Linked DNA regions of Homo sapiens: region 2 is linked to region 1. The links are contacts of gene promoters, found by promoter capture Hi-C in blood cells and fetal thymus (Javierre and others, 2016). All regions are on one chromosome and are shown on one strand. Each heading gives the region's core, a stretch centred on a gene start or on the middle of the fragment in contact. The rest is flanking DNA. Distances are from core to core; before and after follow the strand shown.

The links. The method cuts DNA at HindIII sites, captures the fragments that hold promoters and counts their contacts. A CHiCAGO score of 5 or more calls a contact.
Region 2: a fragment that was not itself captured here is called in contact with the fragment with the promoter of SRSF12 in region 1 in 1 of 17 cell types (M1 macrophages); the score reaches 5.5 in M1 macrophages.

Annotation. Positions count from the first base shown.
Region 1 is chr6:89,115,222-89,122,118 of GRCh38, reverse strand. It overlaps SRSF12 (serine and arginine rich splicing factor 12), which reads left to right and starts at 4,048. Exons shown (of 5, transcript NM_080743.5): 1 at 4,048-4,296. The coding sequence starts at 4,232. It also overlaps a transcript of PM20D2 not described here. RefSeq lists a silencer at 4,195-4,464. The HindIII fragment of the contact is 10,924 bases long and covers 2,588-6,897 here.
Region 2 is chr6:89,215,440-89,222,336 of GRCh38, reverse strand. GABRR1 (gamma-aminobutyric acid type A receptor subunit rho1) reads left to right here and starts at 4,979. Exons shown (of 10, transcript NM_002042.5): 1 at 4,979-5,136. The coding sequence starts at 5,015. The HindIII fragment of the contact is 697 bases long and covers 3,881-4,577 here.

The DNA of each region.
Region 1 (6,897 bases), core at 2,799-5,298:
AAGACAGGATTCAGGAGTAAACAACCAAACATTATAAATAGATTCACATGTGGCTCTATTTTAAACACAACATAGACTACTAATTTTAAAGACTTGTAAAACTGAAAAGAGATTCTGAATTTTTCTTGCAATACACTTTATAAAACCGTGATTCCAATGAAAAAGTTTAAAATGTATTTACTTTTGAAAAGTCAGGTGATGATATCTAAATGAGATATGACACAGGTTTTCCTAAAATATTTTCAAATCAAAGTCTCTCTTAGGTGAAAACTTAAAAAGCATTTAATTGATCATAATTTTTTAAATGTATTAAATAAAAAGTAATGGAAGCAACAGTTACTTCGAAGAACAATATATGAAACTCTCATGTAAAAATGAGGCTTTTGTTATGGGAACAGTTGTCAGATTTGCCAGTGGTATACTCCTTGGGAATCCTCAGGCAATTTAAGAAAAACATTAACTCTCCTAAGCCTGGAGGGTACCATTTGGTGCCTTAAAGCAATGATTCAATAAAGCAATACTTTTGTTAAATGGCACTTAAGTTCTAGAACAAAGGGTAAATATGAATATGTTTATGAGTCCAGGGACAGGCAGGGTGTTTACTCTTGACCTAAGCCTTTCCCCTACCTCTTCAAGTATCCTAATCTGCCAAAGGGAAGACAAAATACAGCTTCATCAGTTACTCATCTCAACTGGTTTAAGGACCAGGGCAAGACACTGGCCAAGCTGACTGTAACATTCCTTAGTTGGCCGTGCCCGACGATGTTCTCTCCTTAGGCCTTCCAACCAGAAAACAGCTTTCTTACACTTTACACTAGCTGCCTCAAATCATATCTGGAAAAAAGAACATACGTTTTTATGTAATATAAATAATTATGGCTCCACAACTTATTTTATATCAATTCCAGCTACCTTTTAAGTTCAAGTTGCTAAGAGAAACTCCTTACACAGTTGAAGACCCTTTCCTCAGGTATTTCCATCAAAAGGAACAGAAAAAACACCCCCTATCCATACATGCATGCTAAGTATTTTTGGATACTCCTACAAAAGCTTTTTTCAAACTGTAAAGAGCTTTGTGGTTTTTTTCTATATTTATAAAAAGCATTAAAAAAATCTGACAATACTAAAAGATAAGAAGAAAGCAAGTATCAGAGTATAATACCTATACCTGAATAGGTAAAAATAGAATAGAAAAATTCTATTTATACATGAACATACAGATAAATTTATTTATTTATTTACAGACAGGGTCTTGCTCTGTCACTCATGCTGGAATGCAGTGCACTGGCACAAACATAGTTCACTGCAGCCTCCAACTCCTGGGCTCAAGCAATCCTCTTGCCTCAGCCACCTGAGCAGCTAGGACTACAAGCATGTGCCACCATGGTTGGCTAATTTTTTTTTTTTTAATTTTCTGTAGAGATGGGGAGATTCTCTTATGTTGCCCAGCTGGTCACGAACTTCTAGCTTGGAGCAATCTTCCCAACTTGGCCTCCCACAGCACCAGGATACAGGCATGAGTCACCACGCCTGGCCAATATATTTTTAACTAAATAGGTTAATCGTTTACATGTCTCATGAATTGATTTTTCTCCACTTAACAGTATGTCAGGGATGAGTAATTGTGACTACCCACCAGGTCAAGTTTCTTTTCTTTGGTCAAGTTTTTTATTTGCAAAGTCAATGTAGTGGTTTGAATGGCGGCCCCCAAAAATACATGTCCAAGTCCTATCTCCAGGTATGTATCCTTATCTGGAAAAAGAATCTTTGCAGATGTAAGTGAGGATTTCAAGATGAGATCATTCTGAATTAACCAAGTGGGCCCTAAATCCAACGACAAATGTCCTTATAAGAGATAGAACTGGATAGGATAGATGGCTGATATCATTTGGCTCTGTCCCCACCCAAATTTCATCTTGAATTGTTAGCTCCCATAATTCCCACGTATTGTGGGAGGGACCTAGAGGGAGATAACTGAATCATGGGGGCAGTTCCCCATACTGTTCTCCTGGTAGTGAATAAGTCTCACGAGATCTGATGGTTTTATAAGGGGAAACCCCTTTCGCTTGGCTCTCATTCTCTGTCTGCCACCATGTAAGATGTGCCTTTTGCCCTACACCATGATTGTGAGGCCTCCCCAGTCTTGGGTATGTCTTTATCAGCAGTGTGAAAACGGACTAATACAGTGGCTCACACCTGTAATCTCAACTTTGGGAGGCCAAGGCAGGAGGATCACTTGAGCCTAAGAGTTTGAAATCAGCCTAGGCAACATAGACTCCATCTAAAATAAAAAGAGAGAGAGACAGAGAAAGAGAGAGAGAAAGACAGGAGGCCATGTGAAGACAGAAGTGGAGACTGGATCTATGTATCCACAGCCAAAACATGTGTGGGGCCACCAAAGACTGGAAGAAACAGAGGATTCCCCTAGAGTGCCTTCAGATAGATGATGGCCCTGCGGACACCTGGATTTCAGACTTCTGGCCTCTGAACTACAAGAGAATAAATTTCTGTTGTTTCGGGCCACCAAATCTGTGGTGCTTTGTCATGGCAGCCCTAGCCAACTAACACATGGTAAGCATTCTAAGCTTTTGTATTATGAATCCAGCCTGCTCTCCAGCCTCATTTTCCAACTCTTCTCCAGCCTCATGCTCCTGTTTTGCCTCATTTACTATATTGCCTCAAAGCCTTTGCACGTGCTGTTCCACTGCACTAATTACTCTTCTCCATTCTTTACCCATCTCTTCAAGACTTGTTCAGGGAACATAAGTGACCCTCTAGCCTTGCTCACCATCCCACAATGCCTGCTCTCAGCAGCATATAGTTCTTTTCATAGCCCTGTATTATAGTTTGTATCTTTACCAGTGTGATTGTTAGATTCTGCCTCCCTACCAAATTCTAAGCTCTAGGGGAATAGGCACGGTGCCAGTCTAGCCCTGTGCCTGCAGTGCCAGAGCAATCCCTTCTGAATGAAAGAATAGCCACCGTTCCAGTACAGCTGCAGACCCAGGAACCTCCACAGCCTCTGGGAGGGCTGTGAGCTAGAAGGGTGACCACGACATGTATTCTTCAAAGCCTACCACTTCTGCGAGCGAAAAGGGGCACTCTTCACACTTAGGAGTTGCCTGGTTACACTCCCAGCCCTGAATAACAGGCTGTGCCTGCCGGCCACAGGAGCAAGGCGAAGACGAGTCTAACTAGAAGGGGATGGGCTACAACATTTTGGGGGAATAGGGAGAGGGTAATTTAAATTTTGCTTAACTGTCCCTGCATTTAAACTGTTGTCTTCTACATCATGTATTCATTTGTACATTCGTTTGTCCCCCCTCTAGAATGTAAGCTCAGAGGGCGGGGCTTGGCCTGTTTGTTCATTGCTATATCCCACGCTAAGTGCCTGGCGCATAGTAGACGCTCAATAAACATCTGAATGAATGTACTCACAGCTGAGTGTTATGCCCCAAGTGAATAAAGGATGAAGAATCATATAATACTTAAAAATCCAACAGGCCAGGCGCGGTGGCTCACACCTGTAATCCCAGCACTTTGGAAGGCCGAGGCGGGAGAGGCTTGAGCCCAGGAGTTTGAGACCACCTGGGCAACACAGCGAGACCCCGTCTCTATTAAAAAAACAAATCCGAACAAAACCGAGACCTCACAGTTGGAAAGCCGAAGGCTCAAGACCAGAGGGGCAGGAGGCCTACCAACTGCCAAGGTCCTGCGCTCAGGACGATGCGCTGAGGGCCGCGGAGGCTGAGCGGGGGCGCGGTTGAAAGCGGCTCTCACTGACCCCACCTCCGCCCAGCCGCAGCCCCGCCACCACCTCTGGGTCCTCTAACCCCCGGCGTCCCCGCCGCGGCCTCAAGCCCCCTCTTGGCCTCCGCCCTCCTGACATACACTGGCCCTCGCCGCCCCCTCCCCAAATCCCGTCGCACTCCAGGACCCCCCATACCCGGATCCCATAGGGCCTGGGAACGGCCGCGCTCCTGTCTTCGGAATTCCCGCGGCCCCTGGGCCGCGCCGGCGCCGCCCCCGCCCCCGGCCCGTGCGTCCAGGCTGGCGCCGCGCTGCGCCCCCTCTGCGCCGGCCTCTGCGGCTGCGCGCTGGCGGGGCTGAGGCCGAGGGGTGGGGGTCGCGCCGGGGGCCGGCGGAGCTCCTGTGGTGGTAGCAGCGGTAGCGGGAGACGGAGCGAGTCCAGCGGCCGCGGGCAGACCCGGAGGGAACGGAGGAAGCGGTCATGTCTCGCTACACGAGGCCCCCCAACACCTCCCTGTTCATCAGGAACGTCGCGGACGCCACCAGGTGAACGGCCGCGGCTGCAGGTTGGGGGCGCGGAGGAGGGGCGGGGTAACAGCCGCGCCGCGGAGCACGGCCGAGGCCCGGCGGAGGCTCGGGGGAGCTGCGCGGAGCCTCCCCGCGGGCCCAGGCTGCGCCACTTGGGGAGGTGTGAGCCCTCGGACTACTCCGCGGCCCAGGGCGGAACTCGCGCCTCCGCCCTCCCGGCCAGCTTTCAGCCCCGGCGCCGCGCACATCGTGTCCCGGGCCCGCGTCGCTTTCCGCGGTTCAGCACCGCAGCCGGCGGGCCGTGGGACACGGGGCGCCCCTCTCCCGAGCTCAGGTCGCTCCCCGCCGGGAGTCGGGAGGGTTTGCGCTCCAGCGAGTGCCCGCGTTTCAGCTCCTTTGTCGCCGTGCCCCGATAAAATCGCGCGCATCCAACCCTCCTAGATGGAGAGGAATTGGGGCTGGTGAGAACGTTTTGTACCATAATGCGTACTCGGGCCTTACAGTTTCTTTCCCCCAGTTCTGGTCTACTTACAGACGGTGCTGCTTGCATTTTATTCACACAATTTTATTCTGCATACAAAAAATAACTTCAATGAATGAGATCAGTGCGTTTTTCTTTAAAGTTCTGAGTCCAGTATTAACACCCTTTTTAAGGGCGTGAGTATAGGCTCACCTGGTTGATTCTGATGCCCCACCCCTCCGTTGAGAATTTTGTCTACAGAGTGTCTGAACACAGATACTAAGGAATGACTTTTTCATATAGCACTTCCTTCCTTAATGGAGCTGAAGAAATTGGGGGCGGGGGGAGAGGGAACGGTGTTAATAGACATTCTCATTTCACTGGGCTTCATTTACTTCCCCCCAGCCTTTCTACCTATGCAGTACTGTTTTATTGTACATAAGGGAGAGCGGAAACTAAGAGTTTTAATGATTTACCTGGGGCCAGAGAGGTATAGATACATGGAGCTCTTGACTCCATAGTCATCTGAGATGAGTATTATAATTTACCTTTGAGGAGTAAATAAACGTTAAGTATTTTTTATTTTTTAGTTTTTTTTTTTTTTTTAGACAAAGTCTCGCTCTTGTCCCCCAGGCTGGAGTACAATGGCCCGATCTTGGTTGGCTGCAACCTCTGCCTCCCGGGTTCAAGCGATTCTCCTGCCTCAGCATCCAAAGTAGATGGGATTACAGGCGTGTGCCACCACACCCGGCTAATTTTTATATTTTTAGTAGAGATGAGGTTTCATTATGTTGGCCAGGCTGATCTCCAACTCCTGACCTCAAGTGATCCGCCCAGCTCGGCCTCCCAAAGCGCTGAGATTACAGGCATGAGCCACCGTGCCCGGCCAAGTATTTTTTATTTGATCACCGCAAGTACATGTATCACAACTATATGTTGTGGTTAATATATCTTAGTTAACATCTAAAAGGTGCCTTGTTTACATTTCTTCTGTCAGCCTTTTTATCAATATATTACATAGAAAACACGAACATAATTTATGATTTGGGCAGAATTAAAAAACCTTGCAGTTGAACAGACAACTTGAAAATGGAATAAGCATCAAGCCTCTTCAGGGTGTCTGTAGAAAAATCAGAGGTTTCCAATTCTAATGGTTCACAGGGGCCAGCCGGGGTAATATAAACGAGTGAAGCTGCCAGCCTATAAGGCACAGTAGGATGGTGTGGACTATCAAATAGAAATAGAATAGCAAATAGAAAAGGAAATATGCCATCTAAAAGGTGCAGCATCTGCCTCTAGGCTCCAGCTGACAGCTGCCATGTAGACATCTGGACTTATTGTTGATATATCTTACTAGTTGTAAAGAGAAATCAGAAATCTGGATTTTGTATGTGTAATCTTAGTCTTTAGATGCATTAAGTTGAATCATATGAAAATCCCATTCGTGGCCGGGTGCGGTGGCTCATGCCTGTAATCACAGCACTTTGGGAGGCTGAGGCAGGCGGATCACGAGGTCAGGAGATGGAAACCATCCTGGCTAGCACGATGAAACCCCGTCTCTACTAAAAATAAAAAAATTAGACGGGCGTGGTGGCGGGTGCCTGTAGTCCCAGCTGCTCAGGAGGCTGAGGCAGGATAATGGTGTGAACCCGGGAGGCGGAGCTTGCAGTGAGCCAACATCGCGCCACTGCACTCCAGCCTGGGAGACAGAGCGAGGACTCCGTCTCAAAAAAAAAAAAAAAAAAAAAAGAAAGAAAAAAGAAAACCCCATTTGTAGATTTGAAAGCTGTAAAATATAAGGCTGGGCGCGGTGGCTCACGCCTGTAATCCCAGCACTTTAGGAGACCGAGTTCGGCGGATCACTTGAGGTGAGGGGTTCGAGACCAACCTGGCCTACCTGGTGAAACCCCGTCTGTACTAAAACACAAAAATTAGCCAGGTGTGGTGGCTGGCGCCTGTAATCCCAGCTACTCAGGAGACTGAGGCACGAGAATCGCTTGAACCCCAGAGGTGGAGGTTGGCAGTGAGCCGAGATCAGGCCACTGCACTCCAGCCTGGGCGACAGAGTGAGACTCTGTCTCAAAAAATAAATAAATAAAAGAAAGCTATAAAATGTAGCCTGGTGTATGACACCTGTAGTCCCAATTACTGGGAAAGCT
Region 2 (6,897 bases), core at 2,980-5,479, 100 kb before region 1:
TACTTGACTCTTGGGATGGGAAGAAAAATTGGAGAGTTCAGCACATTGCTGACTGTTCCCCCAAATTTATTTTTTGTTTTCATCATGATATAATTTTATCCAGGTATAAGATGACTCATTGAGAGACCACATTTCTTGGACTCCTTACAGTTAGGAGTGACTATCAGGCCAAGTTTCTTGCCAGTGAAATGTGAATTGAAGTGATGAGTGCAGCTCCTATGTCACTTGCCTAAACAGAAATTGCTTGCTTTTCATGTCTTCTCTGCCTACTGGCAGCCCAACTTTAACCAGGTACACAAAGACCATACCCTGAGAAAGGGCAACAAGACGAAAGGCACTTCGTCCTGGAGCAGATTCCCTTCAGTCTGGACCACTCACCTCTAAGCTGTTCCATGACAAAGAAATGCTATTCTTTTTATTGATCTTTCCATGGCTCGATTACAGCAGCAGCTTAAATAGTAGGCTTGACGATACAGTGAGTAAAGAAGCAGCTGCATCAGGAACTGAAAAATGGCTCTTCGGGTCATTGTTTCATCAAATTCCTTTCCTTTGCCTTTTTATTTGTCCCTTATCCCCTACCTGGAAAGGGCCAGTCCAATGCTGGGAGATTATGTTTAGGCATTGAGCTCAGAGCCAAATTGGTGCACGTGTACAGTCATCCCTCGGTACCAAGGGGATTGGTTCCAGGACCCCAAGGATTCCAAAATCCATGGATGCTTAAGTCCCTTCATAAAATGGGGTAGTATTTGCATATAACCTACACACATTCTCCTGTATACTTTAAATCATCTCAGATTACTTCTAATATCTAATACAATGTAAATACTAGCAAGTAGTTGTTATACTACATTAGTTTTTTGAATTTGTGTTCTTTGTTTTTCTATCCCCAGATATTTTTGATCTGCACTTGGTTGAATCTACAGATGTAAAACCCACGGATGCAGAGGGCTGACTGTGGCTAGAAAATGTGCTGCAGGGAGCACGTGGAAACAGCTGATGAGCACCTGCAGCCCCTGTTTGGGAGCAGCTGGGGTGTGCTGCCTGCCGTTCACCCATCAGTCAGTGAGTGCCTTGTGTGTGGTGTTGGGTTGGCTCTGAGGGCTTGGGGCAGGGAGACTTTTGATGGCCATGAGAAGATAAGCTGGAGTTAAGCATTGCCTGGTCCCTCTTCTGCTGAAGAAATTATTGCCCTGGAGACCCTGCATTGCTGTAGGGAAGGCCATGATGGCTGAGGAATAAAAAGGAGAGTGAGAAGAGAGAGAAGGCTGGCATACTCAATAAAGGAAAAGAAGAGTTTTGTCAAAAAATAGTGTTTTTGGCCAGGCGCGGTGGCTCATGCCTGTAACCCCAGCACTTTGGGAGGCTGAGGTAGGCGGATCACCTGAAATTGGGAGTTGGAGACCAGCTTGACCAACATGGAGAAACCCCGTCTCTACTAAAAATACAAAATTAGCTGGGTGTAGTGGCGAATGCGTGTAATCCCAGCTACTCGGGAGGCTGAGGCAGGAGAATCACTTGAACCTGGGAGGCAGAGGTTGTGGTGAGCTGAGATCATGCCATTGCACTCCAGCCTGGGCAACAAGAACGAAACTCCGTCTCAAAAAAAAAAGCATTTTTAAAACTTGGTCTGGAAGTGTTATAGTTCAGTAAGTCAGTCTGGATCCTTAATATGCTCTGATGCTGGCCCTAACTGGTTCTCTCAGGCCTCTTTACAACTCCCTTCTACATCCTTGTCCTATAAAGAGGGCACAGATACTCTCCGCATTAGAGCCACGTGGTGTTAGTGGGAAATAAAGTTGATTAAGAACATTTACAAGCAACAAAGTAGTGAAATGCCATGACTTTCTAAGTTCTCATGACAGCAGTAAGAGGGATGCATGGTTGGCTCAAGCCCAAAGCAGAAAGGGCTCTAAGACAGGGCCCCTCCCCTCAAGGTTCTGCCATAGGAACTTCTGGATGGAGGAAGTGGCCTTGTTGCAAAGGCTCAGCAGCTGGTACCGCCTGTCCTGCCATCAAACTAACTGGGGACCTGCTGAACCAGCTCTCCTTAGCTAAGAGAGGGTAGGAAATGCGTGTTTGAGGCCTTCCGGTTTGCTCTCTTTGGTTATGCCCAGGCTCCTGGCCCCTGGAGCTAGTCCAGGATCCTCTAAACAAGAAAGAAAGGTATTTTCCAATCTGGGCATTAGGAGCCATTTAATGTCCTTTCTACCTCCCCAATTTAATGCCTTATTGTCCTGTTCATTTTGATGTACTCAGCTCCAGAATATCTCCCTTTAGACAATTTGGTCTTTAAATCAGCAAGTCACTACAACTTAAGTATCCAACCATGCTTAGCTTACATTGACCTCGGGAGACATCACATATTCTGCCTTTATTTCTATATGTTGAATGTTTTTGACATCTATTAATTGAAAGCACGTTAAAGGATGATTTATATAAGAGGATATAATCATGACTCTCACATAACTATAAAATGAACAGACATTGAAGATTTTATTTAACTCATTATTTAGTTAAGGGACCAGTAAGATGTTACAACTGGTTCAAATAAGGGCTTGATTTATAGAGATTTATACTCTCCACAGCACAAAAGGAATAATTTGCATAGCTATGGACAGGAAAGCTATGCGTTACTATCAGTTTGCTACGTGTTAACATCTACTATTACAGAATTGTAAAATAGCCTAAAGACAATCAAAGTCATACATCCCTATAGGATCAGACAATCCCTGGAGGACCCGCTGGACAAGGCTTAGAATTCTATTGAAAGAACACCCAGTAATCTATTTTGCTCATTTCAAAGTTTGACGATTTTTCCTGACCATCTTCCTTCTCCTTGTTATTATATATAATTCTAAAGATTATTCTTGATCACAGAAAAAAGCTGGGCTCCTTAGGTTTGGCTGGTTACTTCTACAGTGCATCATAGATGCCTCCTTTGAAGTTTGCGTTGCAAAACCTAGAGCCATACGGTGTTGAATGATTCCAAATTAGCTCCTGCCTAGAAGTTATCATAAGGAATCTTAGCTTGGACTTCTAAAAGTGTCTGTTATTTTCTTTTCTTTTTTTGGGACGGAGTTTCATTCCTTATTGCCCAGGTTGGAGTGCAGTGGTGCGATCTCGGCTCACTACAACTTCCACCTCCCAGGTTCAAGCGATTCTCCTGTCTCAGCCTCCCAAGTAGCTGAGATTACAGGTGCCCGCCACCACACCGAGGTAATTTTTGTATTTTTAGTAGGGACAGGGTTTCACCATGTTGGCCAGGCTGGTCTCTAACTCCTGACCTCAGGTGATCCTCCCACCTTGGCCTCCCAAAGTGCTGGGATTACAGGCGTGAGCCACCGTGCCCCGCCATGTCTATTATTTTCTATCCTGCTAAGATTAGGAGACCAAGCCCAAGAAACTCCACCAAATTTTACCTGCAGTACCTATAGATTTGAGTGAATTCCTTTCTTCTAGAGGTTTCAGAAAAATACCTCCAAGTACTTGCCTAGAAGTGACTTTCCTTACTAACTGTAAGACTGGACACTATAAACTGGACCTACGTCAGGTTTCCTGAGAGGACATTATAGGCATTGGTTCCGTAAGTACAGCCAACCTTTATTCCTTAAAATGGCTTGTCACACCTCGTTAAATGAACATTATTCTCAAATAGGGCATTCAAGGCAAGGCTTTCATTGCATAATTGATGCTTCCAGTTGTATTTTGGCAAAAGGGAGGACAGATTCTTACTAAACCTATGCAAACAACTATATTGCCAAGAAATGTAGAGAGACTGGGTAAGAGTTTCTGAATTCAAATAAGAAGAATCGTGTTAGTGAGAATCATATATAATTTAAGAATACTTCATTCTGGTTTATAAAAGCAGAATTTAAAAGCTTATTGTGAATTACAGATAGCACAAGAAGAGAAAGAAAAGGCTTCTTACGATCTGGGAACAGAACCTTAAAACAACTGCATTTCAAATAACCCGAAAAAAATTTCTCTCATCAATTTTTTTTCAGTCTTGTGTAATTAATTCTCATTCTATTGGATCTTGGGTTAGCAGTTGTGTGAAACCGCTTTTCAGCTATAGAGTTATGGGAATCCTGACTCAGTTTACCGGTACAGTCTGAAAGTTACCAAAACCATGTCAGCTCAGCTTTGAAGAGTCAATAGTTTGGAGTACCTAATGCGGTCTCTTCCACGAGGCTCTGAGACTGTCTTTTGATGAAGACACAAGATCCGGCCTGTAGATTATAGCAGAGTCTTAAAGTAAGCATCAAAGCAAAAGAAAAACTGTCTACAAATAACACAGACTTGAGGCTACAGTTAATTTATTACTGGTATTTTTCAAATGTGGACAGTGCAGCAAGGTTCATGATAAGAACAATGCAACTGACAAGGAAATTTACTTGTTTCTGCGCCAAACAAAGACAAAAAAACCTCTTCCCCAGTTGCCCTCCCAATCTCAGCCATATAGACAGCCCACGCAGGTACCGAGCCCTGGGGTTTCAGGGATTCAGCCACAGGAAGTGGGGGCAGGAAGCTGTCCAAATCCAGCCCTCAGCTAAAGCAAATAATAATGGCCGTAAGCTTAAAATAGATCCAGGGAGGAGCTCATTAACGTGAACATAGAAAGCAGTTCCGCACCTCTGGCCTTACTCCTCTTGGAAATTGCTTTGGTCCATTTTTACTTCCTTTTATTCGACGCACCAGAAAATAAGACTTTTACCAACATTTTTACTGCATTTGACGATGAACTAATTTAGACCGGCTAAAATAATTGTTCCACTGGGACACAGGAATTCAACCTCAGTTCAGAAAATCCCTGACATCTGACGTAGGAGGATTTATAGGTTTAGTGGAAATTGCTTTCTCCTGCTCTCCAGATTGCATCCTGTGGGTTGATTTTTTTTTTGCATGAGTAAACATCCTTCTAATAATGAACAGACCAATAATGTCTTAAGAGAGAAAAAGAACAATCTTTTCCTTTTTGCTGTTTCTGGAGAGAGCTGTTTGAATTTGGAAACCCATGTTGGCTGTCCCAAATATGAGATTTGGCATCTTTCTTTTGTGGTGGGGATGGGTTTTGGCCACTGAAAGCAGAATGCACTGGCCCGGAAGAGAAGTCCACGAGATGTCTAAGAAAGGCAGGTGAGTGGACATTTAGGGATAGAGGATTTAGGAAAAGAGGATGCACAAAGTGAGCTTACAGTGTTCTTCTAGAAACTGAGCATCATTTCCAGCGTATGGTGTTTTGTGTGGATGCCTTTTTCTTCCCCTTCCCTTTGTTCTCCTGCTGCTCCCCTTTTAGAAAGTTAGAATTACGTTTTCTTTTAAAATGATGCTAGATTAGATCATTTTATCAGTGCATTTTTAAAATTCCTTATGAATTGTCCTGGGTGAAAGGTAGATTCTGGAAAATAGAATATATGCACATTTAAAAAAAATATCAAGGGCAATTGTTTGCTGTCTGTGTCCTAGGGTTAGAACAACTCTGTGAATTCTCAAATTACCAATGGGACCTGTATTTCATGAGAATGATTCTGCTCTAATTATTTCTGTTAGATTTGTGAATCATTTTTTAATATTTTAAAAGAAAGCAGCTTTCTCCAAGCTGTGTGACTAGAAGGATCATTATTAGATGGTTCCCTACCTATAAATTGGGAGGGCCAGGGACGGAGCCTCCTGCAGGCAAGTGCTTGCCTGTGGTCAACACCAAAGGTGCATGGTGCCCTGTCTGCCAGCACTTGCAGAGGGAGCTTACACAGGAAACCAGGTTCCCCACCAGCCCCTTAGCACTCGGCCTCACCTGGGCCATTCTGACGGCAGCACTGGCAATGTCTATCTGGGATGCACACCTGCTTGCCCGGCATCAGTCAATAATACAGGAGACTTGGAGACAACCTAATCCAGTGCTCTCTGTACTGATGAGGAAATGGAGACAGTAGGGCGTTGTTGATTCTTGGTCCTTTCTTAGCCTTAGCTTCAAATTGAACTTCACCTTTCTTTTGAGTGTAAATATAAATAGAGTCTGAGAGATCAGTGAATATGAAAAGATATCTAGCTTTTGGGAGTTTGGGGTTAGGAGGAGGGCTGTGTCTAGCACCTCAGTGTCCTCCTTCTGGGGCTGGAGGGAGCCCTCATCACATGGGCTCCCAAACAGCCAGCTGTAGCTCACAGCATTTGTTTCAAGCTGTTCTTAACAACATCACAAAACTAGGAGCTGAAATATCCAGTGGTCATGGTGAGCCCTGGGGTGCTAAGGGAGGCCACTGTGCCCTATTACCATCAGAGTCAGAAGTTGCTTGGGCAAACACTGGAACTTGTGGATTGGTGCAGCCGTAGAGATTATTTGATCCAAATGTGCTTATAGGGATTAAAAGCAACAACAACGACAACAAACTCTGTTGGTCTTCATCAAAAACTTTTCCCAAGCCAGAGTTAGAGTGGCAACCTATTTGCAAATATCGGTGATTAAGAAGTCTAAGAGAGTGAAATAGACTTTCTTTTAAATAATTTATTTAAAACATTTAAATTTTAAGTGACAAATTATGATTGTATATATTAATGGGGTACATACAAAATGATGTAAGGATCTATACATACAGTGTGGAATGATTAAGTCTAATTAGTGTATCCATTACCACAAATATTTACTGTTTTTTTGTGGTGAGAACATTTGAAATTTACTCAGCACTTTTGCAATATATAATACACTATTTTTAACTGTGGTCACCATGCTGTGCAATATGTCTCAAAAAACTATTCCTCCTGTCTAACTGAAACTACTTCTTGGCCAACATCTCCTCATACCCTCAATCTCCCAGCCTCTGGTAACCATCATTCTGCTGTCTGTTAATATGATTTCTGTTGTTTTAGATTTCACATACAAGTGAGATCATATGGTATTTG